Regions from separate parts of the Homo sapiens genome. Here all the other regions are linked to region 3. Evidence: promoter capture Hi-C in 16 types of primary human blood cells and fetal thymus (Javierre and others, 2016). All regions are on one chromosome and are shown on one strand. Each heading gives the region's core, a stretch centred on a gene start or on the middle of the fragment in contact. The rest is flanking DNA. Distances are from core to core; before and after follow the strand shown. Region 1 has its middle 18 kb from the start of LINC02052. Region 2 holds the start of LINC02052 (long intergenic non-protein coding RNA 2052). Region 3 holds the start of ETV5-AS1 (ETV5 antisense RNA 1). Region 4 holds the start of DGKG (diacylglycerol kinase gamma). Region 5 has its middle 13 kb from the start of CRYGS.

Region 1 (5,390 bases), core at 1,817-4,316, 430 kb before region 3:
ATTCCTAAAATTTTGTCACACTTGCTTCATTTTGTTGTTGTTGAAATGTTTTAAAGTAAATCCTAGCCCCCCTATTATTCTGCCCCTTTACACCTAAAAAACCATGGATTTAAAAAACACTTCTTACATAAACACTATGTCATTACATACCTAATAAATTAGCATTAACTCTTTGGTAGCATCTAATATCCAGTTCATAATCAAGGTTCCCCAGTTGTATAAAAATGATTGGTTCCATTCGAGATCCAAAATCCTGCATTTGGTTCTTATATCTTTGAATCTCTTAATTTGTAACTGTCCCTCCTCCCCTTTTTAAAGGTATTGGATTATTGAAAAAATACAGTGAGTCCATTGCTGGACAGAACGAGCTACACTCTGGATTTGTCTTCCTCACATTGTCCCTTAACTTGTTTCCCTATGCCCCAAAATATTTTCAGCTACAGATGAACTTGAAAGGCTTGATGAGACTCAACTCTTGCGGGAGCTAGCACAGTTCACACTGAAGCCTTGTACTTCATTTGGCAGTGGTCTCAACCTTGGCATCTCATTGGAATCAGCTGGAGGCAGTTTTTAACCATCTCTATGCCCAGGCTACATCCCAGGCATTTAAAATCATAATCAGTGGAAATGGATCCCAGACATCAGTAGTTAAAGCTCCCCAGACAATTCCAATGTGCAGGCAAAGTGCCACCCATTGTATATTTCATCTCATCGGCAAACCCATAGCATTGTTGATGCCATTGTTAGCGATCGTGATAAAACTGAGCAGCAGGATCAGCTTGTGGCAGCTTTATCTCTCCATGGAAAGTCCCCCATTAATAAACCGTCTGATTGTTTCATCTGCTTATGATTTTTGCCTAAACCAAATGGGATTGCAAAAAGATGACTTTCTACTTCTGCACTCTATTCAAATTTTTAAGCTTTTATGAAAAAGAACTTTCCCTTATCAACCTGGGCTTTTTGCTTACCCTGCAATACAATCCAGGCAAGGCAAAATAAATGCTCAATTTTTTTTCCAAGGGGTTAATCTCAAAAAGAATAATCGTATCTCTTTCTGAGATCGTTTGAAGGAGATGGGGTTGAAGACAAACATTCTTTGAGGTGGAGATCACAGTGGGAGGAGGAGTGGGAGGCACATCATAATAGGAGGTCAGGTCACCCTCAGTGAGTGGGGTAGGTGGGAAGAAAATAGAAGCCTGGAATACGTGCTGCTGGGAATGTGGCAGGCAGTTAATTATCATGGAAAGAAGGAGTACCGAATGGCCAAAGATCCAGCTGGGATTAGAGTGTGAGTTTGTGTTGGAACCAGGGATGGCAAATTTCTACAGCAGTGTTCAGCAGTGGAAGAGGATTTACCCAGCCTGGCTAGCACTGGAGTTGCCTAGGTGGGGACTGAAGGATATGGGGGTGAGGGAACTAAGGACCCAGGCAAGGCCACTGTGACAGCAGCGTCACGGTTTCTCAGTTCACATGCGTGGTTTCCCCTGCCTAGAGCATTCTCATGCGGCTGACCTCACCCTTCAGGACTCATGTCAGATGCCCTGGCCTCCAGAAGCCATCCCTGGCTTTCTGTGTCTGAGCAGCTCCTTTTCTGTGCTTCCACAGTCCCCAAAGCCGCCCTATCACAGTTCATATCACCAGCAGTCCAATGTTTACTTGGTTGTGTCTCTTATTAGACTGTAAGTTCTAGTTGAAGCCAGTTGAGTCCATGAGAGAAACAATGTGGGCTTTGGAGAGAGGGGGGTGTTGAGAAATAGCAGTGGCAACAGAAAGAACTCCTAAGAAAACATCACTAAAAACGCCACTATTGATCTCGTAACTGAGGGGGACAGCACATACATAAACTCATGCTTTCAAGTTTTTAAAACATGGCACAGATTGTGCCGGCCCCTTGCACAAGCCCCTCTGAGATGTTTCTAACACATTGGGAATAAAATTGCAAAGGCTCTCCATGCCCCCTGAGGACTTCCAGGCTCTGCTACTGTATTGTCCTGTCTCACTCTGCGCCTGCATTAGTGGGCTTCACGCTTTCTCAATCTCTCCCCATATGAGCCACTGTAGAGCCTTGGCTCTTGCTGTTCCCTCTGCCAGGGAACACTCTTCCCCCAGATATCAGCCTCCCTCTCTCCCTCTCTTCATCTGGTCTCTGCTGAAATATCACATCCTCAGAGACAACCCTCCCTGACCACCCCCTTACTCTCTGCCATTATCTGGCTTTCTTCTTCACGGTGCTGACCACCACGTGGCACTGTATTACTACTCAGCTGCTGATGGCTTACTGTCTGTCTCCCCAAGCAGAATGTGACACCACGATGGTGGGACCTTGTTCTTGTCCCCGCACTGTGTTTTCAGCACCTAGAACAGTGCCTGATGTGTGGTGGATATCCAAACATTATTAGTTGAATGTATGAACACACACCAAGTGCCTTTGAAAGGCAAAGAAAAATTTGAACTAGGAATGGGGTACAAGTTTGTCAGTACCCACAGCACCCCTTGAGCTCCACGGGATGAAGCACTGAGCCCCAAACAGGGGCAGGGCCAGGGCTGGAAGCAGCAGCAATGAGGTTCCATCCTCAGCACTGAGAACAGGGCCAGGGACATGGGATGGGTGAATGGAAGAAACAAGAGCCATGAAGATGCGTGTGAACCATGGGAAGTAGCCACTATGCACAGGGACATTGGGCACGGACACATGTGTTCAGCAAGTGTGGATTAACCCCACCCACACACCTATGGTCTCGATACTGAGTCAAGCACAGAGATACCTAGAGGAAGAAGACAGAAGTCTTCTCAAGTAGCCCGCAGAATAGAGGGGAAAACTGAGACATCAACAAGTAAAATGAGGTGTGACTGGTGCTGAAGTGGCCATATGATGTGGTGGTTACAATAAGCAGTTTGGGCCAGAGAGTAGCTCAGATTATGACTCAACCACACACTATCTGAGTGAGCTTAAGCAAATTATTTAACTTATTTTACAGAAGGGGAAACCAGTGACAGATTGGTTTCCTATAACCAAGGACAAATACCTGTAGATATGCTCAGTAAATCTCACTAAACCAATTATAGATTGGTTTCCCCATCTGTAAAATGGACAGCAATAATACCTATTTCATAGCATTGTGAAGATAATATGAGTGTGTGTGTACATAGATAGATAGATAGATGATAGATAGATAGACAACAGTACTTGGTACATAAGAAGTACTATATAAATGTTGGCTGGTATTTAATATTATTGTAAGAGATGTGTATATATGTGGAGACAGTGAGGGCACAAAGCAAGCAGGGGCAATGCTACCTGGGGTGTGGGAGCGGGCAGAGAAGACTCATACAGGGGAACCCCTGGAGCTGAAGCATGAGAATGAGTAAGTCTGCCACCTGCAGGGGAGAGGGGCCGTGTGAGGGGAGTGGTACGGGGGCTTGGAAAGCACTTGATCATATGTGGAACATCGGTTCAGAGGAGACAAGGGTGTAACAACCTGTCACTGGCAGGAGCAGAGGGTCTGGCCGGAGCAGAGCACAAGGCTTAGACCACCTCTGGAAGGGGCCCTTCCGAGGGGCCTGATTGCTGTTTCCAGCCTGTCCAGTGGAAGCAGCCACAGGATGGCTCCATGTCCCCAGAATAAACCAGGGCCCTTTGCAGCCTGACTGATTTTTCAAAGAAAGAAATGCAATTTGCTGGTGCTGGACAAGACATTAATTTTGTTCTGTGGGCTGCATGAGTCATTTAGGAACAAAGCACGAAATGTAGATACACTTTCCACAGCCTCTGCATGTCACTTCATGCCTGCCCAGGGCTGGACATTATTTCACGCAGCTCAGAAGACACACCATGGGAAAGGCCAGGGCTGGGCCCCTCCGAGCTGGAGAAACTGTGTCATAGACCCCCTGGGTCCAAACTCAACCCAACCCCATTTTGCAAGTTCAAAGAGAGAGGGGAACAACTGCCTCCTTTCATTCCATGGTGGGATTTTGGAGCCAGCAGGTGTGTGCTCCCACCTTGGCTGTGCTTCTTCTCATGTGACCTGGGACACCTCCCAGGACCCCTCAGCTTATCAGGCTTCCCATCTGGAAAGGGTGTGCAGGGACCTCGAATCAGAGCTATGATGAGGATGAATGAGATAGCACAACACTAAGGGCAAATACCTGCAGACTCAGAAATAGTGCTCAGTGAATCTTCATCCTGCTCCTCCCAACAGGTGTGGAGCACGGAGAAGATGGTGTCCTTTCTTATGTCTCTCCTCGAAGCCTTCAGGCCAGCCCCTTCCCTTCTCTGTACCTCAGTGTGGATCTGTGAGAAGAGGTACTCGAACCTGGTTGTCTCTAAGCACTCCATTGCCTTCCAGCGCTGTAGTCTAAACTGCTATGACTGCGAACAAACTTGCCTTGGGTGATGTAAAGAATGTGTTTGTGCCACTAATGGCTCCCAGCAGGTGTGAAATGAATCCAGGTTGTTGGTTCCAGTGGGCAGGTATTATTTGAATTGACAGTTACGTATTTAGGTTATGTATTTAGGGCTGAATCACAGACAGAGGCTGGAGAGAGGAACTAGCCCCTCCTGGGAGGAATGTGGCCCCTCCCAAGCCTACTCTCAGGCTTTATTGGTCCCCTGTGGGAAGAAGATGAAAGGACATTAGCTGTGTCTCAGAACAGGCGGTTTGTACCTGCCTAGAAGCAGAAGCAGAAGGAAGGCCCTCCCCACTCAGAGCTGTGTGACAAAATATCAGCCTTATTTCAGGCCCAGGACAAATTCAGCCTCCTCTAAGAAGTAGGTAGCCTGGCCTTCTTGAAAAAGCACATGTTTCAGACTCAGAATCTTGTCCTGGTTGTACCTCTTACTGGCTATGTGACTTCTGAGCAAGTTATTTAACCTTTCAGAACCTCAGTTTCTTCATTTGCAACATAGGGGTGACAATAATCCCATTCCTCACAGAGTTGTATAGATTAAACAAGGGGAGTATCCTACACATAGTAGGTACTCAACAAATGGCAGCTGTGTGAAGCCTTTCTAGGGCCCCCTCTGGTTGCAAAATCTCATCCTTCTCTATATTTCTATGATAATTGCTCAGTGGCATACTAGAGGCTCAGGACTGGTCATAGATTTGCCTTCATCTCTGTTAAATTCTAAGTTTCTAGGGAGTGAGGATTGCTTTAATTCACATCTGATCCCCCAGTGTGCCTGGCACAGAGTAGGTGTTCAATTAAAGCTTCCTGAATTAAATGGGATTCAAACTCCCAGAGAAGAAACCATATTTCTCTCCTTGCCAACCTCCTCGAACCAGCCTCGCTTCCTGGCTCCTGCTGTCTAGCCAGGTGCCACTGAGCCTGTGTGAGTGTGCAGGCCTGGCCCTCAGGACTGAATATGCCATGGGGACCCAGATCACAGGACA
Region 2 (5,191 bases), core at 948-3,447, 420 kb before region 3:
GTAAGCTTCCCCAAAGTCCTACTGGACACCACCCTTGGCTTACTATGTCCAGAGGACCAGTCTGTGCCTTGCATACACCTGGCTCCAAAGAATCCCAGGTAGGTACCTATGGAGTTACTTTGGTATTTTTCACAAGCTGTTGGCCTCTGAGTCAGCTCTCATTCCTGTATCTCCCCTGGCAAAGTGAGCCTGACCTTGGTTCCTGGTGCCCAGCTAATCCTTAGGAATGCATCTCCCAATCATCAGCCAGTCTCCCCTAGACTTCTCAGACAGCAGCCCCTTGTAAAAACTGCAGCCTCTGAGAGAGCTGGGAAAAGAAGGGGAGGTAATTTAATAATTACCCCTGTATACATGGGGCTTGTTCTATTGCAAGGGATAAAGACCCATTCAAGCTAGCTTGGTAGAGAGGATTTATTGTAAGGCTCCACATATAAGATTAAGGGGAGCCTCTGGGAAATCTGGGACCAGAAACTATATTAAAGTTTGCCTCAGTAATTCCAGCTGTGTATTCAAGGCAATTGTAGTTTCCAGGAAGCAGTTGCTAGGGGCCTTCCCTCTAATTTAGGGGTTGCACACACCAATACCTACACAGGCATGCACCAGTGCCTACATGGGGCAGGCAGGTAAGCTGAGTGTGAGCGTAACAAGGCAGGGTGGAGGCTGGTGGATGGGAGAACATATGGCCCAGGAAAAGCGGGCAGCTGCAGGCCCTAGCTCCAGCTGATTGCAGCCAGGACATGCTGACTCTGTGTTACAGAGCTTCTGGCTTTTTAAGAGAAGCCAAAGAGCTGGGTTTTTATGCAAAATATCCCAAAGTTTAAAGATTGGTAACAGATTCACAAAAATGCAGAACACGATATGGTCTGGATGAGATGAATCTTATTCCATGACTACCAGTGTTGTGCTTTTTCAGTTCTTTCACTATTGACCTGACCTGTCCTCCAATGACTGGGGAATTCCTTTGCTTTATTTTCGTTTTGTTTTGTTTAGACAGGGTCTCACATTGTCACCCAGGCTGGAGTGCAGTGGCACGTTCTTGGCTCACTGCAGCTTCGACCTCACAGGCTCAAGGAATACTCCCACCTCAGCCTCCCAAGTAGCTGGGACTACAGGCACACACCACCATGCTCACCTAATTTTTTGTATTTTTTGTAGAGACAGGGTTTCACCATGTTGCCCAGGCTGGTCTTGAACCTCTGAGCTCAAGTGATCCACCCAACTCAGCCTCCCAAAGTGCTGGGATTACAGGCATGAGCCACCGCGCCAGGCTGAATTCTTTCTTTACTTCCTATTCAGGCTCCTAAGGAAAGAAAACCAGCTGACCCAGCCAATCCTTTTGGGTCAGATCAGGTCAGGCCGTGTTTAGTTTGTCTTAAGGTCAGGGATCTACTCCTGCCTACTCTAATCAGCTGTGGCCAGCAGGCAAGACGGGATGTGGGAGCAAAGTGCATTCCCACTTTCGTATGACTCCAAAGCCCACTCTAAACTCCTGCACTCCATCCTGCCTCTCAGTTAGGTCAGAAGTCTGAAAAGGTCTGAAGTGACTTTTGTAGATATTACACTTTCCAAGAAGGGCTTTGGTGAAGAGGTATTTCAGCTTCCTCCTAAAGTGGCACCAGCTTCTTCTTTTTCTTTTCTCCCCGGCCCTCCACCCATGTTTTGTTCCATTTCTCCTAGTCTCCATACAAATCCAGCAAAGTGATTTTCTTGCCGGCTAGTAAAATTATAAAAACGATTTAAACTGCTCTTTTTCTCTCTTAAAACAGCTTTCTCCCTGTCAGTAAGAAGCAGGAAGATGAATGAAAGAAAACAGGTCAGCATTTCTAGCTTTTCAAGCTGTTTTTCAATAAGGAAAGAGGCAAAGAAAACTCCAGAGATGGATATGAATTGCATTGAAAACATTTCCTCCAGGAGAAAAGTCGCTGCTTCCCTGAGAGGGCTCATTTATTGATTTAATCAGCCTGCAGGAGCACCTTCTCCAGTAAAAGATGTTGAGTTGGAGTGGCCTGGTCTGCAGTGTGTGCTTACGGTGCTGATAGCACCACTGCCGCTGATGCCGACGGTGCTTTTCACCTGTGCCCACACGTGTGATGGGGGAAGATGCACCTCCCTGTGAATGCTGGCGTGCTCCATGTCACTCCAGGATGTCACTTGTCCTGATGTCCTATCTGAGTTCTCTGTAGGCATGCTACAAGAAATCTGATGACTTTGGGAGAAAGAAGATGATACATTCTTTTTTTTTTTTTTTTTTGAGACAGAATCTTGCTTTGTTGCCCAGGCTGGAGTGCAGTGGCTCAATCTCAGCTCACTGCAACCTCTCAACTTCTGCCTCCCGGGTTCAAGCGATCCTCCTGCCTCAGCTGCCCACATAGCTGGGATTACAGGCATCCACCACCATGCCTTGCTAATTTTTGTATTTTTAGTAGAGTCGGGGTTTCACCATGTTGGCCAGGCTAGTCTGGAATTCCTGATCTCAAGTGATCCATCCACCTCGGCCTCCCAAAGGGCTGGAATTACAGGCGTGAGCCACCGCGCCCGGCCAGATGATACATTCTTGATTCCCCCAAATTCCTAGAGTGTAAGAGCCAGAAGGACCCTCCACTCAACCCCTTTATCGTACAGATGAGGAAACTGAGGCCCGAGAGGCAACCTGCCCACTTGTTGTGACTGAGAGCTGAACCTCAAGGAGGACTGGTCTTTCCTATAAAACTCTCCCCTCAGAGTTGCTCTGGACTGATAGAGAAAAACGTGCACCCAGTCTCCAGGGGCAAGAGCAAGGCCCTATAAAAAGGATGATCTGTGTATTTATTCTGTCTCTTGTTGTCTTTGGCACGGCTCTGCCTGCCAGTCCTTAACCCTTTGCAGAGCTCTGGGCAGCGTCTCCATGGTGGATTAGGGTCTAATCACTAGGAGAAGGGCGAGGGCAAGCTCTTGAAAGAGTAGCAAATATGGAAAGTTCCCGAGTGAGCGTTAGGGGAGATGTACTGGGGGACCGGGGGGACGGACCTGGAGGGAGAACGAGGGCGCGAGAAAACCGTCTTCCAGGACTTCCCACCAGCGGAATGGCACTTTTGACAGATTTTCCTTATTTGTCTGTGAAGGGGATTCAGATCATTCAAGATGGACTCAAGTGGTTGCTAAGGCAACAGTGTTACAGTCGTCACTGTCATGGAAACCCGTTCTGTGGCGTAATATAAATATTTTCCTTTAGGAATGAGAAAGAGAGTTGAGTGGGCGACAAGTTGTTTTCTAATGCTCACGCGCTATGGCCGAAGTCTGCAATGGATGGGAGAAAGGGGAGGACCAAATTAGCTCAGATTCTTTACAGTTCACAGCATCAGCTGTTTTATTTATTTGTTTTAGATAGCGAAGCCAAAAAAAGTTGGATGGGGGCAAAAATGCCAACTAAAATAGCTCATAGTTCTGAAGTAGAGAGAAGTCAGAATTTCCCGTTTTCTCTTGTTTCTCTCAGGGATGGTCTATATGACTGGCGCTCCTTGGAAGCAGTGCTGAGGGCATTATCAAGAGTTTCCAGGGCCTCCTCTTTCTCCTGAAACCTTCTTCAAGGAGGGTAAAGTTTTAAGAGAGTTCAAAAGTACCACAGACTTCCAGGGAATAGTAGTTTTTGTCGTGACAAGCATGGACATTTTCTTGCGTCATGTACTATTTCAGAAGGTAGAGACCACAAAAAGGCTTCTTACTGTGGCCACCGTGGACATCTTCCCACATCTACAAGGTGTTGTGGCCACATCATTGCTGCACCCAGTTTCCTCAGAAGAAATACCTGTTGCTTAGGTGGGGAGACAGAACCCATTTACCTGGGAGGTAACTTCCAACGCCAAGATTCTAGAATTTCATGGTTCTTCTCTCAATAGTTTATGATTCTAACAGTCAATGGTTCTGTATTCAAAGATTCTCTGGTTTTATTATTCTAAGAGCCTGCTTTTAAAAATTGGGTGTCAGAGCAAGCCCCGAGGGCAGCAGCTGTGGGCAGGCTGGAGGAAATGGTCCCTGTTTAGGTGCTGCACTGGTCTCTGCATGATCAATCCCAGCGCCCAGAACACCGATATCAAGGCCTTTGCCTGGCTCTTCTCCAGATGGTTTTCTATTGCAGGAGTTTTGCTGGCAGAGAGCTTATGAAGAAACAGGCTTACAGAAGGCACGGCCAGGCTGCAGGGATGACTGGGACCTGAAAACAGCCAGCATCATCATTCTTGAAAGTTTGCTGACTTTCCTGTATTTATTTTCCATGGACTATGAGGAGGAGAATAATAGTGGTTCTCTAATCAAGGGGCATTCACAGAGGGGCCTAGCCAGGCAGCCTGACCCTGTAGACCTGCTCTGCTCCAGAGAACAGTGGAGGGGAGGGTGGCTTTGCATGGAAGCTTACACTATAGTAGGATGAAAAGATTGGCTTGGGAGACTGTGAAGGCTCAAAATTTTTATTCCAGTCTATCTACTAGCTCCCAGGGGATGTGTCTGGGAGAGCTCTCAGTTGTGTGATGCTGGGAGGAGCTTTAGATCCCCTCAGCCCTGGCTTACTGGTCTGCAATGGGAGAATAGCACAATTAATGGAGCAGACAATAACCAAATCTGTTAAATGATTTCAGGTTTAGAAACGAGGCATGTATACGTATTTAACAGTTCTCAGAATGTCAAGGATCCCTCCTCAGAGCAAGAGCTCGAATTTACAAAAGAAGCACTACCTCCTTTATCACATAGTAAAATAAAGGACCGTGTCTGCTCCAGGACATGGCTGGTTACAATTTTGTTTTAAAGAAATCACCAGGTGGGTGCATGGATAAGGGATCCTTGATAAGTTGTTTTTTTTTTTCCTCCTCACTGTGTAAACAGCTTTATTGCTGTTTCAGTTTATATAATTAACACTTGCTCTTTGGAACAATTTGAACAGTGTATAAAAGTGTAGGAAATAACTTAAAAGTTCATCTTCCCACAGGAGCTGAATTTTATGAAATAATTAATTAATTAAAATAAAAAACCATTTAAAATCCCACCACCCTGAGATGATCCCATCAGCCACTTGTTGACAATATTTTGCATATACATAAGTTTTAGACATACACATATTTAACATAAATGAGATATTTTTATTTTGGGAGATATTTTTATATCTCCCAAATCAGTCTTTTGCTGTCTTACCTTCCTGCTTCCCTTCTGCATGTCTCTTTAT
Region 3 (5,302 bases), core at 1,565-4,064:
TATGTAGTTGGCTTCCAAGCCAAAAGCAGTAGCTCCATGTATTTATTCCATGAATTCAGCAAAATTCACTGCACCATCTATGAAAGGACTGGTTACGCAAACCTACCCTTGCTGGTCGGTCACTGAGACAGGCCTGGAGCAGATGTTGTAAGCACAAAGGTAGCCAGGCTTTCTGCTTTCTGTATTCATTAGCCTTTCCTAGGTGGTGGATTGGTCTGTTGTTTTATTCCTTTGCTTTTAAAATTTTTGGAATGCCTCTAAAGTTGAGTATTTCTTGCTGAGAGCTGATATTTAAAGTTACTTGAGAAAGGACTTTTTAAAAATTCTATATTTAATTTGTAAATATGCATCTGAATAAGAAATATATTTGCCACAGCAATTTTAAGCCTTTGATAAGCTTAAATGTGTTGGTAATGTCTACCAACACATTTTTGGTCGTTTTGTCCTTTTTGGAAACAAAATTCTTCATGTCTGCAGCCACTTGCATTTTTGGTGGAGACCCATTACCTGCAAGGTTTTTAAGGATTTTGCAGCTTCTGGAAAGCAAGACCCATGACCAAAGAAATTTGGGAAAAAAGACTTGGCTAATTAAAAGTATCAGATGATGATACTTTTTCTGACTTTGAAGAATTTAATTGGCTTTGGATGGGAGGTTGTGTGTTTAAGCGTTTTGCTTTTTCTGACATGTGACTTGACATGAGTTCCAAGAACAATCAGCTAGTTAGAAGGTTTGCAGAAGGAAGCATTGTGCTCCCTGTTAATCAGCTGTTCTCTCTCTATTCCCCTCTCATCCCTCTTCTGATTTCAGTGGTGCTTCATGCCCCACCTCCAACCAAGATCAAACGGGAGCTGCACAGCCCCTCCTCTGAGCTGTCGTCTTGTAGCCATGAGCAGGCTCTTGGTGCTAACTATGGAGAAAAGTGCCTCTACAACTATTGGTGAGTGGGCAAGAGGAGTCGAAGAAAGGCTGCCCAGAAAGGCTCTGGAAGTAGCCATCAAGCTGAATGTTCCTTCCCAGTGTTACTTACCCAGCAGACCCTGTGGTAAAACATATCCTTCTTTCATGGCAGTGTCATCCTCCGGGTGTAGTCCAGTCCCCTTGGGATCATTGTACTGCACACAAAAGAAAACCATTAAAAACCTTGTGGCTCTACAGAGCACTAAGTTCATAGGGTACCCAGTCCTTCTAGGGAAAGAGTCTCAATCCTGGGATACTTGATCTGTGGCTTTGAGGCAGGTAATATATACTTCTTCATGTCTATCATATGTTAATGTGAACTTTAAGCACCAGAGAAGTAATCTCCAAATCAGAATATATGAAAAAGTCTTGAAGCTTGTGCCCTTTACTTAAGAATATCCAGGCCCCAGGAATGAAGCTTTAATTTTAAATCATTCTTTGCTCTAGAAGATAAACATAGATTTGCCTGAAAGGGGGAGGAGAAGAGTTGTTAATTCAAATGATGTCACAGCACAAACAGACCTTCAACACATATTCTGACTAATTCCTGGGAACCCTGGAAATAGTTGGGAGAGGGGACCAGAGAACACCTGGCAAACATACATTCTCCCCTCACCCACCCACCCTACACAGGCATACACGGAGAATTCTTTTAGAAGGAGGGAAAAAGGAAACCGGAAGCAGAGGCTAAAATTATCCTTGAGAAAAATCACTAGAAGTGTTAAACAAGTCCCTGTGACGCAGTGTGTTTGTCACTTTTCAGAGGTACAAATATCCCCTCGGGGCTACGAGCGATTTAACTATGTTAATGCTGTTATTTCCTGGCAACAATGGGCTGCAAACTAGCTTTCTGCTGGACCTGGTAACCATGCTAATGGCTTCATTTCAGCTTAATGGTTCCTTCTCTTTTTCTGTTTACAGTGCCTATGATAGGAAGCCTCCCTCTGGGTTCAAGCCATTAACCCCTCCTACAACCCCCCTCTCACCCACCCATCAGAATCCCCTATTTCCCCCACCTCAGGCAACTCTGCCCACCTCAGGGCATGCCCCTGCAGCTGGCCCAGTTCAAGGTGTGGGCCCCGCCCCCGCCCCCCATTCGCTTCCAGAGCCTGGACCACAGCAGCAAACATTTGCGGTCCCCCGACCACCACATCAGCCCCTGCAGATGCCAAAGATGATGCCTGAAAACCAGTATCCATCAGAACAGAGGTGGGTGTTGATCTGGGCTTCTTCCTTAATTGTCTCCCTCACTCCTATCCTTTCTCACTGGGAGAGGGGAAGCAGTTTGTCTTATTTACCAGGTTCCTAAAAAGTTATCATTACATTGAGGCAGCTTGTGAGGCAAGACTAATGATAATACGAATATGACTGTTTATATACCACCCTGTTCCCAAGGTACTCCAGATGGTTGATGGACTACGACATCCTTATAAAGTAGGTAAGGGAGAGGTAACTGGTATTCTCCCGTCTCACAGAACTAGAGGAAGAATGACTTGCCAGGATAGTCTTGTCCCTCACTGAGGGCAGGTTCCTGACTCCTCATTGGATGCTGCCTACTATTAATAGAATTGAACTTCAGTTATTACCATTTCACTTACATATAAGGGACAATTGCTGATTTATACAAGGTAATATTACTTATCTGATTTTAACATGTTTTAACAGTAGGAGATTAGCTAAGGACCTTATTTGTACATCTGCTTTTGAAATAGAAATCTCCTGGTTACACTGCAGGTGGTTTTTACATTTCTACAGGCATTGAGGCATCAGGAGTAACTTGTCCAGAGTCATTCATTTGTCAAAAAAGTGTGTGAAGGGAACCTTCTCTGCACACTCCAAACCTGACCTCTTTATCTGTGGTATTCTAGAATCTCGGATGCTTGTGGCCTTCTTTTATAGAAGATGTGCTGGGGGCCTGTCTTTATTTCAAGTTTCTCTGGGATAGGGGGGTAGTTGTCAACAATATTACCAAAGGATGCAAGATGGTGGCCATGGTATTTCATATCTATCTATCTTGTGTTAGGTGGATCGGTGTGGGGGCCACAATGGGGCGGGAGTGGGAAGAATATATGAGTATACCTTTCCCAGGCCTGGTCCATTCCAGATGCCTACCAGTATTTACTTGGAGGTCATTTTATTTCTAGATGAAATGCAGGGGAAAAAATAAGGTCCCTTTGTCTGGTTCTGATCCCCTTCCCGTTTTGCTCTGAAAGTCACCATTAAGAACGGCAAAATATGGCTGGTTGCTGTTTATTCCTTGGTTAGGCCAAGGAACACGAACGCCTGTGTTACACAGGGCTCAAGGGGTGAGCACTGACGGGGTTGTGGGGGGCTGGCTCTGGAGTGGGCCTCTATTGCCACCGGGGACTCATCTGGAGGACACAGCTGCCGCTGAGCTTTTGGCAATTGTTACCTTGTACTAACAACCTGTACTTGTGCAGAAGAATTTGGTTACTTGGTTTTTTATGTAAAAATTGTAGACTTTTTTTTTTAAGTTGGCAACTAATTCAAATTAAAAACAACACCTCTGCAGACTAAACAAAACTTCTCTGGGCAAAATCACCCTGCAGGCCTGCCAATTTGTGAACTCTGGCCTAGATATCATTTTTATTTCAATGGTTTTTTGGTGTTTTTAAACAGCATCTTGCTGATTTTCTGCAAGGGTTATGGGGAAATTGGGGAGGAAGTGTGGGGTCGAGTATATATTCAGTATTTGAAACTCTTAGCAAACTTCTATTTGTTATACCATGAACTGTAAAAGAAAATTCCTTTATCTAATATTTCCCCCTCAATCCTTGTTTTTTATCCAAGGGGCTTATGTAACATACTGTATTAACAGTTAACTGAGTTGGGAGACAAATATCCTAGTTCTCCTGGAGAATTGGGAGATGGGTAGCCCCAGTCTCAGCTGTGAAATAAGCCTGTCTCCAGTCCACCCAGCCCCCTGAGAAGGAAGGAGTTTTGGATTCCTGGGATTGATGAGTTATTTGCCCGTGGGTGTTGAAAGGAAGAGAGGAGGGAACCAGAATGCAGGTATTTCTTTTCTTGGGTGATTCCTCCTTGAAGTCTGCCTGTGCATTTTGGACTTACTTCTTGTTATACTCTGCCTTTGAGACTGATGGGTCTAAAATTCAAAGCTCTCACACACACACTGGGGTGATACAGAGATCCTTGAGGTAATTGAGGTGAAGGGGGAGGAATTCTGTAGGTGACCAAATCGATTACAAACAACACTGGGCACTTGGATTTCCACTCAAGAGTGCTGTCCTCTCAAAGTTGAAAGTGCACAGGAGTCCCCATGGGAGTGTGGAGCGGGGATTTTCAATGCAGAGTCCTTGTTAACATTCAGAGATAGAGTGTGTGGGCCTGGGGCGGGGCCTGGATATAGTCTTGTCACACTTTGAGAAATTGTGATCCAGCTCTCTCTACCCTCATCCTTATTCCACCCTACCTTTATTTAAAGCATGTATTACCAAATTCTATTCCTACTGCCTTTGTCTATTAATATGGTCATCCACGTGATATCTATGTGACATAAAACGCATCAAAAACGTGACAGTGATTTTTCTTCTAGATACTGGATAGTACACAGAAAATGAGACAGACCAAAATCCCTGGTTTGATATTTGTAAAAGTAATAGAAATTACAGTCATGGATAATATCAAGCTTCATAATCACATATTTAATAACTTTTATGCCTGCCCAAAAGTGGGGCAGATTACTTTTATTGGTGACTATAGGTTGTCTCTTGGCTTAGAACTTTTTATTAAGATTAGAGGGACTATTACTTCAAAACGAAATCCCTAATACAAATATATGGTATTTTGCATGATAGAAGTAAAGAGAGTCTCATTTGAAACTTTTAACCGCCCTGTGACATAGGCAGAGTGAAAAAACCCATTTTATAGGTTAGAAATCAAGCCTCAGCACAGTTAAAGGACTTTCTAAAGCTCACATAGCCAAATACAGGGTCCTACATTCAGCAACCAAAAACTTCCATGACGTGTAATTACGCCATTTGTTTCAGTTATGATTTTATTTGGGCTGCTAACATCCACTAATGTCTACTATAAAAACTGAGTAATTGACCTTGATAAATTTGTTTTGACCTTGAACATTATCTGTTTTTTTATTATACTTTTAAGTTCTATCTATCTCTTCAACTACAAAATCTTAATAAATTCCTACATCATTTAATCCAAACCCATGTGCTTAACATGTGTCTTTTTTGTTTTGCTGGGTGTGCCGTATCTGTTCAGTTGAATAGAGTAAGCTCTTTGAGGATAAAAACCTGTGATTTAGACTCCTTTCTTTAGGCCACATTTAGCCTTGTACCTTATTTG
Region 4 (5,196 bases), core at 1,362-3,861, 280 kb before region 3:
AACAAACAACAAAAAATCCACACCTGCCATAGCTCCTCACTGTGGAACCCAAGTCTATGCTCCCAGAAGAGCATTTGGAGACTCCCACAATACTGTCCCAGCCTTCTTTTCTTGTGCTGGGAAGACCCAGAACTCACCATGAATTGTCCTACGTCTCTGCTTTTGCTTTCTCCCAGCCTAGATTGCCCTTGTCCTGTTGATCTTTAAGTGAGATCTCTATTCCCCTTTAAAATCCGATCGCAAACCCTACCTCCTCCATGATGCCTCCATTAGCACTAATTGTTCTTGGTGCTTCTTCCCGCCCCATCCCTCTTTGCCTTCCACATTGCTTCAGCCTCTACTACCACCCTTTTCCTCCATGTTATTAGCATGTAACTCAGTCCACACAGCCTTCTCTGAACTCCTTCTGCAGCAACTCAGATGCATCATTTGGCTCCATCCTGATCCTAAAGGAATCCATTTGCAAGCAAACCGATGAACAATATTGACTTTACAAATGATTTCTTTCATAGGACCGGGGGCTTTCATAGCCCACCCCACAGCAAACTACTTACCAATCTTTGCAAGCATCTCCCCTGTCCAAATCCCTGGACAACTTGGCAACCCTGTTGCCTGTTCTCAGGCAAGTTGCTTGGCAACCCTGTCCTCAGAGCTCCTCCCCTCTCGTTACCCTTCCCCAATGTGCTCTCAACGAAGCTAAGGCTCCACACTCAGTCTCTGCATGTCTTCTTCATTTGTTCCATTCAATTTATTTCCTTCCTGTCCTAATAGGCAGAGCAACTCAATGTTGTCCTAACACCTATTTGCAAACATGTACCCCAAGTCCATTATGATGCTCAGCCAAACACAGGGTCTCCTTCAGTTTAGCCTTCTTTAGAAGGAGTCAAGAATAGACAGCCAGAATGTTTTTCTTGTGACATGTATGTGCATTTTCCTCCATTGAGCATGCAGTCAAAAAAAGCAAGGATTGTGTCTTCCACATCCATGCAACCTAGCAGAGTGAAAATATATACCAGAAACCTGTGCTCAGGGCTCCTCTCTTCCAGGGATGAGGACAGTTCTAAGCCCTTTCTGTCTCTCAGTTCTTCTTTCCTCCCAAGTAAGGCCCAGGACTGGAGTTACGGGGAAGCACCTGAAGACAGAGTAGGAGTTTAATAAATAGCTGTAAAATGAATGAGTCAGTGACTGAAGAGGAAAAAAAGAAAGGACAAGGAAGAACTTTGAAGGCACCCTCACCAAGATTATTTCAGCCTAGCTGAAGGAAACTTTGAGAAGCCACCCAGGGTGATAGAATGGATAAGACCCAGAGGATAAGAGGAGTCGCAAACACGGGGTTCTGGTATCAGCTCTGTCTTCATCACTGTGTGGAATCTTAAGGAGATCTCTCAGCTCTGTTTCTCATCTGTCTCACCAGCCTGCCTGCAGATAGCCTAGTATGGACACCACCCAACAGGGTCCTCAGGGCTGTTTGACATTCGTGTTTGAGGCTTCTTCCCCAAATGCACAGACACCCAGAGCCCCTCGGCGCCTCCACACTCTGCGGAAAGCTTTTCTTGGCTGCAGTGCTGGCCCGGGGACCTTCACTGCCCACTGGCAGAAAAGAATTCTCGGCTGTGGAAATGAGTAAACTCCACATATTTTAAAGATGACAGTCTAAACTCCTAATGACTCTAAATGTGGTGTGAAATGGACAGCAGTCATCTTGCTGTGTGACATGCCTGAAATAGTGTCACCACCACCATCACCCCCTCACGTGGACATGCACGTCATGGAAAGAGAAGCAACAAGTCATAGTGCCTTGGCTAATGTAGCTCCCCTATTCCCCCCGACCCCTCACCCCAGCGTCTTTTCTGTGCTCTTCTACATTTTAAAAAAAGAAGAGATCTATTTATTCTGCAGGAATACAGTCCAAGGTCACCTAAAAGCAAAGGAGAATGGGAATTAAACACACCCAGAGACCCGACCCATCCAACAGAGTCCAGCTCAGGCAGGCTGTGCCAGTCTCCACCAGGCTACGAGGGGAAAACCTTTTCGAGTTGAACTGCCACCAATCCACTGCCACCGAAGTCAAGGTTGTCAGAAATGACCCTCTGGACAGGGCTAGTGATTTGGATCCTAGAGATACTGAGTTCCTGGGAAACAAAGAGAACTTGTTGATTTTGTATTTTTATTTTTTCTTCGATTTGGTCGGGATATTACGGTAGCCTTGACCAGAGTTGAGAAAAGGAAACGCCCAGTCGGTATTTATTTGTCAAACAGTTGTCCTTTGCCTCCGGGGTCAGGGGCCCTCTGGTACCCACCACTGTTGCATCCTCTCCACACTCCTAAGCCTGTAACTCCTCCTCCCAAACCGAAGCCCTGTCAGTAAAAAGCGTCCTAATGATGCCCGCGCCCTAGTTGCACCAAAGGGGGTCAGGTTCCCATCGAGCGGATCCACATTCGTGTGTGCGCACGCGTGTGCATGTGTGGAAGCGCGTGTCTGTGTGTGCCGTGTGTGTACGCGCGCGCGCCGGTGTGTGTGGCGGGGGCGGGCTCTGCGCCCGGGGGCAGGGCTCCGCAGTGAGAGTGGCAGCTGGACTTGCCAGGCTGCGAGGGGCAGGGCACAGAGCCGCAGTGCCGTAGTAGCGGGCCACGGAGATAGACAGCTTTGGAGCTGCTGAACTCCGAGCACAGGGTGAAGACCCCGGCGCTACCAACCACAGCCTGGCAGCCTGGTCTCCGCGGCACCCACTGGGGCTGCATCCCCCTCCCCCGAGAGGGCTGCGCAGGCGGGAAGACGCCCAGAGGCCAGCTTCGGTCCCCCTTCTGTCTCTCGGTTCCTCTTTCCTCCCAAGTAAGGGAATAAACCGCGAAGAAGGAGCGCCCCGGGCCACCGCGCAACCAAGTGTTGCCTGGTGAGGTAAGACGGCGGCCGGCGCGGCGGAGGGGGTCCCCGGCTCAGGGAGCACCCGGTGCAGCAACTTGGTAAAGGAGGGCAAAGCGGGAGCCGGTCCCGCGGCCAGGGAAGGGGCTGCAGCCAAAGCCACGGCGCCCACCCCGACAGTTCCACCTGCCACAAAGCCCTGCAGGAAGGGATGCCCCGCTCGAGGGGTGCAGGCTTGGGGAACGCACAGGGTGGGGCTCGGCTCTCTCTGCGACTGAGAGGCCCCCTCAAGCCTCAAAGCTGTGCGGGTGGGAGGCGGCCTTGCTCCAGGCAGTTTGCTAAAGCAACTGGTCGGATTTCCTTCTTCTTCTGGACTTAACCTTGGCTCCTTGATATCCAGTTCGCGCTCCAGGCAGTCCGAGAAGCAGGAGATGCTTTTCCTAATGTCTGGCCGCCAAAGCCTCCGACCGTCCCGCGGGGTTCTAGGACTTTGGGGGCACTCCACAAAGCCCCTGCGCAGGGCGACTTAAAGGGAAGCTGAAGCGAACACGGACACCTCAGAGAATAAAGGAGGGAAGGGTCGAATCTGAGGTTGATCTGTGTAGTCTCAGAGTCACAAGATGTGTCCGTGTGTGTGCTTGTGTCCTGAGGAGTGCGTACCCGGAGTCACCTGTGGTGCTTTCGCAGACTCCACCGGTCCACCTCCCCTTGCCTAGTCTGAGATTTTCTTCGTTTGAACTAGTGGAATAGAATTAGGGGAGGGGGCTGTGGAGTTCTAAAAAGCCCTACAGGTGATTTGACGTGCTGCCCCCATCCCCACCATCACTGCAGTGGAAAGCTTGGGACTAGAGCTAGAACCACCTCCCAGATGGGAGGGATGAGCTGCGGAACTCAGGGTGGCGGTCGAGACCCCTCCCCCAGTCGCCCCCCGCGGCGGGAGCGTCTGCTGCAGCGCGAAGCGATCTGTGGCTGCGCCGCAGTGGTGCCCGGGAGCGCTGTGAACCCGTGGGCGCGCTCTCCCGCGCTGCGCCGCTGCCTCCTCGGACTTCATTAGCATACGATGACCTCTCTGTGGGGAGGAGGGCCTGGGAGGGCTGTTTGTCATTCCTTTATTTTGGGGGCTTGGCGACGACACTTTGGATCTGGAGGTGAACACCAGGGGTCATGATGAGAGACAGTGGTCAGGACACAGGACTGGAAACGACCCCTCTGGTCTGGATGGGGGAATCAACTTTGTTATTTTGGTGCTTGGGATTCTCTGTCTGTAAAATACAGCTGGCAGAGCCACTTGCTGGCACACAGGGCACCCTGGTTGTCAATGAAGGAAATTAGATCATAGAGGGCAAATGTCGAGGTTTGGTCATGAACCCAGGCACAGACACACACCCCTTTATATTTTATGTCCCTCTCACTCTCATTCCAGGCATGTGTCTAACATGGGAAGGTACTTAACTGTTTGTCATATTAAAAGACTACATTTGCTGGAGATTCCATTCCGAATATGAATTATACTCCTTAAATAAAACGGCTGCAACTAAGCCAACTTCCCGGTCGTACTCCTGATCTATGTCTTTTTTGCCAATCACCCTTAACGTTTACACCCAGCACTATAGGCATTACTACAGGTATTTTTCTGGGAGGGGCTTTAGGGTGGGAAGCTAGTAGATGAGTCTTTCCTACCTTAGAATTTTATGGAGTGGTTGGTTCAGATCAACCGAGACATGGGGAGAAAACGACAAACATCAGCGTGTCTTGAAATCTAGACTCTCAGAGATGGGAGTAACTACTAAGATCATCTGTTCCAGCTCCCCCAACTGCTCCAACTCCCCACACAACACCATCAACAGATGGTGAGGATCCCTCCAACCCGGACACTCCCAGAGGCCCAGGCTGTGCATGTGTGAGCCTCTGCGAGGAAAGAACCCAGAAGCCAGCAACTCTCCCCTCTCCTACTGATGGGAGTTGGTGGATGCTGGCCCCATCTCCTCCCCTGGAAGAGAAGGGGGAAAAGGGCGGGGAAGTACCTTTTCTTTGTGGTAAAACTTTAAAACTTTTAAAATGTATATCTTATTGTATTACATCATTATAATGTACTCTTTTAGTATAAAAGTAATTCATGTTCATTGCCTAAAAATTGGGAAGTTGAAAAGTATGCAAAGAACAAATCAATCACCCATGATCCTACCACTCCCATCCCACACTGTTAATATACTGGCATATTTCCTTTCCATCTGTTTTTATGCCTCGAAATTATACAATCCATAGAGAGCCAGCATTTATTGGGTGCCTAATAAGTATACTTTGCATGGTGTTAAATTTTATATTCATTATAT
Region 5 (5,752 bases), core at 2,807-5,306, 450 kb before region 3:
ACTACTTTCTGTAGATGTCCGAGTCTATTTTCTGTATGTATGTATTTGCCTATTCTGGACCTTTTATGTCAATGAAATGATAAAACACGTGGTCTTTTGTGACTGGCTGCTTTCACTTAGCAAAATGTTTTCAAGGTTCACAGATATTGTGGCCTATGTTGTTGCTTCATTTCTTTTTGTGACCAAATAATATTCCATTGTATGGAAATTCCACATTTTGTTTATCCATTTATCAGTAGATAGACATTTGTGCTGTTTTCACCTTTTGGCTATTTTGTTTTTTTTTTTTTTTAAACAGAGACAGGGTCCCACTCTTTTGCCCAGGCTGGAGTGCAGTGGCATGATCATGGCACCCTGCAGCCTTGAAATCCTGGCCTCAAGCAATCCTCCTGCCTTGGCCTCCCAAAGTGCTGGGATTACAGGTATGAGCCACTGTGCCCGGACTGTGTATAAGTTTTTATGTGGAGATGTATTTTCATTTATCTTGGGTATATACCTAGAAGTATAATTGCTGGGCACCTGAGCTATTTATTAAATGCTGGAAGCCTGCAGGGCCTTAAAGACAATACAGACCTAGGTCGAATTCTACCTCTCCCACTTTCTAGTTGCAGGATTTGGGCAAACATACTTCTCTTAGTCTTAGATTTCTCATATGTAAAATAGAGGTAGTTATAACTACTTTGCAGCGTTAGATGAGATAATAAGAGAAAAGTCCTTAGCCCGGTGAATGACCCAAAGGAGCAGGTCCTGAATAAAGGCAGCTGTTTTAAAATATGGAATCTCTGGAAGGAGGAGACCTAAGAGGAGTCCCTTGTGGTAAACAGATTGGGAACTAGAGGGCTGTTTGTTTCTCCAACCCCTCTCTGCGTTAATAATCAATGATTTTATGAGATCATTTCTGGGAGTAAGTGGAGGGGAGGAGGTTGGGGAGGGGAGGGGAGGGGAGGTAGTGGTAGGGAGTACAGGAGAGCCAGAGAGCTCTGTGCAGCTGAGGGGGGTAGCTGATTGCACAGAAAGGGGAAGTTAATCTCCTCACTCTATTTCTGCCAGGCCTGTGCTGCCCACTTGGTCTTATCTCACCTAAATGATCTCATTTCCTTTCACTTTGGTCCTGTTTCCCCAGCACCAGTGTGCCCCTTTGTGAGTCTCAGGACCCTGGTTGAGTGGTTCTGGAATTGATTAGCTTTCAGGGGAAATACTGCCAGCACTTTGCCTTCTGGGACACAGCAGGCAGAGATTTATTCCTATTGTTCATGCCCCCACCCCCCTGAACAGGCCACATTAGCCTGTCCATTGAACCGTGGGGCCAGAACAATGGTGGGGCCTGGCTGTAGTGCTGACCTCCACAATTTCTGGGTACACACTGGATGGTTTGCTTGAGCTCACAGTGAACCTGGTGACCCTGGCTAGGCTAGTACTCCAGGATCCAGCACTCAGGACAGAAAGATGAATCTTTAGACTGTTTCTGTGAGCAGGGGGAGAGGAAAGGATGAAAGAAGGGGGAAGAGGGTTACCTGCAAGTTAGTTATAAATTAGAACCACTCATAAGCTTTTGGGGCCTCCCTAAAGGCCAGAGGTGCTAGCAGTTGTGAGGGAGTCACATTTACCTGCCACACTCACTGTGTCTTGCAGCCACTTAGCAGCAGCTCATATTTGCACATACTATTTCAGAGTTTGTAAGGCTCTTTGACATACGATACCTCATTTGACCCTCACCATGATTATGTGAGAAACAGGAGATAATTATCATTATTCCCATCTTACTCATGAATAAATTGAATCACAGAAAAGGCTCTGTGACTTTCAGGTGGATTACAGACTTTCTAGACCCCCATATTTAAGACCAGCCTGTTGGTGTGATGGGGGTTCATGCCAAAAGTCTTCTCTGTGATGTGACAATTTCAAGAAAGCCATTTTCCTCACACAAGTTTAAGGCATGCTTTCAGTGGACCCTATGGTTTCAAGTAATGTTAGTGAAATACAAGTGGGAAGTGGAGTGCTAGAGTTGGGGGAAAGTGTGAATGTCTATGAGTATGCACCTGGAAGACAAATAGAAATGTATTTATCCAGAAAATGTGCCACATATACTCCATGGAATACTATGCAGCCATAAAAAAGAATGAGTTCATGTCCTTTGCAGGGACACGGATGCAGCCGGAAGCCATCATTCTCAGCAAACTAACACAGAAACAGAAAACCAAACACCACCTGTTCTCACTCATAAGTGGGAGTTGAACAATGAGAACACATGAACACATGGAGGGGAACATCACACACTGGGGCCTGTCGTGGAGTGGGGGGCAAGCAGAGGGAGAGCATTAGGATAAATACCTAATGCATATGAGGCCTAAAACCTAGATGACAGGTTGATGGGTGCAGCAAACCACCATGGCACATGTATACCTATGTAACAAATCTGCATGTTCTGCATATGTATCCCAGAACTTAAAGTTAGATTAAAAAAATAATAAATGTATTTATCCATGGTTTTGCTGATCTTTTGCCCTCCTGCCCTCCATTTCTCTGGTTTCTGTCTGGGTCCTGCCATAGTGGAAGGATGAATTTGGCAGATCTGCAGAGCACAATGGAGGTTCGGGGCATACTCTTCAGGCACCTTTCCTTTTAAGCAAATCTAATCAGGAAAAATTTCAAATTTGCACAACCAGTAGATTAGGGGAAAATATTCACTTTTAAATGACCATGGGACTGTTTTTAAAATGTACACTCAAAATTTCAACAAAAATTCAGTGTTCATAGAATGTCTGTTATCAAATAGTTGTGTGTTAAATGAGAGAAAAATCCATAGGATGTTAAAAGTTGACCTATGCCTAGATTTATCAAAGCAGATTCTCTCAGGCAGTGACATTCTCACACTGTCCTTAGGCCCTGGGAAGAGGAGCCCTTCTCTGCCTTGGGGAGGTTCCTACATATCTCAAAATCTACAATAAAAAAACACTTTCTGTCTTTCCTGTCTAAATCTTTCTGTCTCTCTCTGTCTGGTTTGGTAACCAGTTGGGCGAAGGGAAATTATGGGAGAGGGCAATGGGCTGGAATACACTCTGTAGACTAGGGGATACGGATCTGAATGCTCAAGTAGGGAGGTGGGTGAAAGGAGAAAATCACAGCCTCTTCTCTGGGAAACTAGAGAAAGAGGGTCTGATTGATTGATCAATTGCTTACTAATTACTTATTTGAGGGGTTTGCTTTATTAAGGTATCATTTGCAAACTATAAAATTCACCCTTTTTAAGTGTTTGGTTTGCTGACTTTTGACAAATGCATACAATTGGCTAACTACCAACACAATCAAAACATAGGACATTTTCATCACCCAATTAAACTCCCTATGTCCCTTTGCAGTTAATCTCTGTCCCTGCCCCCTCACTTCCTGCTGTGGAATCACTGATCTGTTTCCTCTCCCCATAGCTTGCCTTTAATGTCATGTAAATGGAATCATGCAGTATGTAGACTTCTGTGTCTAACTTCTTTCATTTAGAATAATGCTCTTTAGATACATCTATGTTGTTGCATGCACAGTGGTTTGTTCTTTTTTATTAGAGTATTATTCTACTGTATGTAGACATTCTACTGTACGTATGGATGTATCCCATTGTTTTTTCTTTTCTTTTCTTTCTTTTTTTTTTTTTTTTTTTTTTTTTGAGGCGGAGTTTCGCCCTTGTTGCCCAGGCTGGAATGTGATGGCGTGATCTTGGCTCACCGCAACCTCCACCTCCTGGGTTCAAGCAATTCTCCTGCCTCAGCCTCCCGAGTAGCTGAGACTACAGGCATGCATCACCATGCCCGGCTAATTTTGTATTTTTAGTAGAGATGGGGTTTCTCCATGTTGGTCAGGCTGGTTCCATTATGTTTTACCATTCACTAGTTAAAGGACATTGAGTTGTTTCCAGAAAGGCTACTATGGTTTATAGTTGCTTCAAACCACCCAAAGTGGGTGTATAGCCAGGCTAGTTTCCCCAAGATAACTGTGCTCTTTCCCCTCTCTCTGCTCCAGTGATGGAGTTTTGGCAGGTCCTTAGAAATACCTGGAAATCCTGAGTTGAGAAAATGACAAGTGAAACCTATTTGCCTTGGCTTCCTGGGGATCTTGATTGTGTTAGTTTCTATCCTGGGTTCAGAAGGTCATCAGCTGGGAGTCCTGGAATCCACGTCCGGCTTTAGCGCCATCTTGTCCCAGCAGATCTGAGCTACTCCCAGGTTCACAGTTAGCAGGGGTGGCCTAGGGGAGGGCTTGGCTCCTTTTGCCTCTGGGTTGCAAGCTAGGAATGCAGACTGGCACTAGGAATAGCTTAATTTACAGATTCTAAATGTTTAGACGTCGCGTATGTGGGCGTCCGTTTGTATTCTTGCTCCAGGTCTGCAAATGTTAGGGAGGACCTGTTCCTGGCCGTAACTGGGGAGGACATCTCACAGTTTCTTCCTACACTCCTGTAACCAAATTACTCCATCAGGCACCAGTGGCCCTCTGGTGGTTCAGAGGAATAAATTCTTTACTAGAAGTACCTGCTTTGCTCCCAGGGTGTAGCTTCTGTGCTGGGAGAATCTTACCTCATTATTCCATCTGGTCCCCTGACTGACAGCAGCTGTCAGGGCAGGAGAAAACAACCCGTGCTTGGCAGTCCTCCTCTATGTCCCCAGTCAGCTTCCTCACCCACTCTCAGCAGCAGCTGCTTCCTCCTCACTCTCCCCAAGTCCCCCCCATCACATGGCCTGGCCTCCACAGATACCTCCACCTTCTACTTAGTAGAGAAAAGAAAGACGTTTGTTCAGCTTCCTCCCCACTGCAGCACATTTCTTCCTGTCTTGAATATATCAGGGTTCCCTGACATTTTGTTCTTGGTCCTCTTCACGCTTGACTCTCTCATGGATTTAGCTTTCCTCTCTTCCTACATATGACTTCCAAATCTACCTCTCCTGACTCATTCTCTCTTAGCTTCAAGATCCAGCCATCATCCTGTCCTTATCCTCTCTTCTCTCATATCCAGCTGGTTAGAAAATCCTGTCCAATCCACCCTCTGTGGATTTCTCAAAGCCATCCTCCATCCTCTGCCTCTCTGCCTTGTGCCTCTGCACACGTACTTGGTGTGTCCTCCCACAGGTCTCACAGCCTTCTCTGTCACTCCTCAAAAATCAAGAACCTCACTGCCTTCAGAGCATTCTTTCTACAACACAGTCATGAGTGTGTCAAATCCTTAATTTAAACCCTTCTAATCCTCTGGGTTCCAAGTGTTTGCCAAACAAAATCCCAACTTCCTGGACCATGACATATGTACTTCATGACACAGTACACAGAGGCATCCAGCAGGCATGAGGGGTGATATGGTTTGGCTGTGTCCCCACCCAAATCTCATCTTGAATTCCCATGTGTTGTGGGAGGGACCCGGTGGGAGGTTAATTGAATCATGGGGGTGGGTCTTTCCCAGGCTGTTCTCGTGATAGTAAGTCTTGTGAGATCTGATGGTTATTATAAGGGAGAGTTTTCCTGCACAAGCTCTCTTTCTTTGCTTGGTGCCATCCATGTAAGGCATGACTTGCTCCTCCTTGCCTTCTGCCATGATTGTGAGGCTTCCCCAGCCACATGGAACTGTAATTCCAGTTAAACCTCTTTCTTTTGTAAATTGCCCAGTCTAGGGTATGTCATTATCAGCAGCATGAAAACAGACTAATGCAAGGGGCTGCAGCGCCGCTGGAGGAAGGGGCTTGGGAAAGCCTAAGGCCTGCAGAGGGGCCCCTTA

The links. The method cuts DNA at HindIII sites, captures the fragments that hold promoters and counts their contacts. A CHiCAGO score of 5 or more calls a contact.
Region 1: a fragment that was not itself captured here is called in contact with the fragment with the promoter of ETV5-AS1 in region 3 in 2 of 17 cell types (neutrophils and megakaryocytes); the score reaches 5.7 in neutrophils.
Region 2: a fragment that was not itself captured here is called in contact with the fragment with the promoter of ETV5-AS1 in region 3 in 2 of 17 cell types (naive CD4 T cells and naive B cells); the score reaches 5.7 in naive CD4 T cells.
Region 4: a contact is called between the fragment with the promoter of DGKG here and the fragment with the promoter of ETV5-AS1 in region 3, in 9 of 17 cell types (activated CD4 T cells, total B cells, naive B cells and 6 more). The highest score is 9.8, in activated CD4 T cells.
Region 5: a fragment that was not itself captured here is called in contact with the fragment with the promoter of ETV5-AS1 in region 3 in 1 of 17 cell types (naive CD4 T cells); the score reaches 5.0 in naive CD4 T cells.

The regions. Positions count from the first base shown.
Region 1 is chr3:186,508,860-186,514,249 of GRCh38, reverse strand. No RefSeq gene overlaps it. Among named protein-coding and RNA genes, the nearest start is that of LINC02052, 18 kb to the right of the region's middle. RefSeq lists enhancers at 2,234-2,663, 3,224-3,313. The HindIII fragment of the contact is 4,287 bases long and covers 923-5,209 here.
Region 2 is chr3:186,491,710-186,496,900 of GRCh38, reverse strand. It overlaps LINC02052 (long intergenic non-protein coding RNA 2052), which reads left to right and starts at 3,240. Exons shown (of 8, transcript NR_033844.1): 1 at 3,240-3,795; 2 at 4,611-4,789. RefSeq lists an enhancer at 1,267-1,561. The HindIII fragment of the contact is 4,380 bases long and covers 8-4,387 here.
Region 3 is chr3:186,076,682-186,081,983 of GRCh38, reverse strand. ETV5-AS1 (ETV5 antisense RNA 1) reads right to left here and starts at 2,814. Exons shown (of 2, transcript NR_046594.1): 1 at 2,643-2,814; 2 at 1,037-1,424. ETV5 (ETS variant transcription factor 5) reads left to right here. Exons shown (of 13, transcript NM_004454.3): 6 at 809-938; 7 at 1,880-2,167. It overlaps LOC124909470 (a long non-coding RNA gene), which reads left to right and starts at 2,175. Exons shown (of 2, transcript XR_007096205.1): 1 at 2,175-2,952; 2 at 3,770-5,162. RefSeq lists a silencer at 4,222-4,417. The HindIII fragment of the contact is 3,249 bases long and covers 1,379-4,627 here.
Region 4 is chr3:186,359,649-186,364,844 of GRCh38, reverse strand. DGKG (diacylglycerol kinase gamma) reads left to right here and starts at 2,611. Exons shown (of 25, transcript NM_001346.3): 1 at 2,611-2,899. RefSeq lists a silencer at 2,452-2,541 and an enhancer at 3,326-3,843. The HindIII fragment of the contact is 2,154 bases long and covers 1,550-3,703 here.
Region 5 is chr3:186,528,237-186,533,988 of GRCh38, reverse strand. No RefSeq gene overlaps it. Among named protein-coding and RNA genes, the nearest start is that of CRYGS, 13 kb to the left of the region's middle. RefSeq lists a silencer at 894-953. The HindIII fragment of the contact is 5,009 bases long and covers 1,552-5,752 here.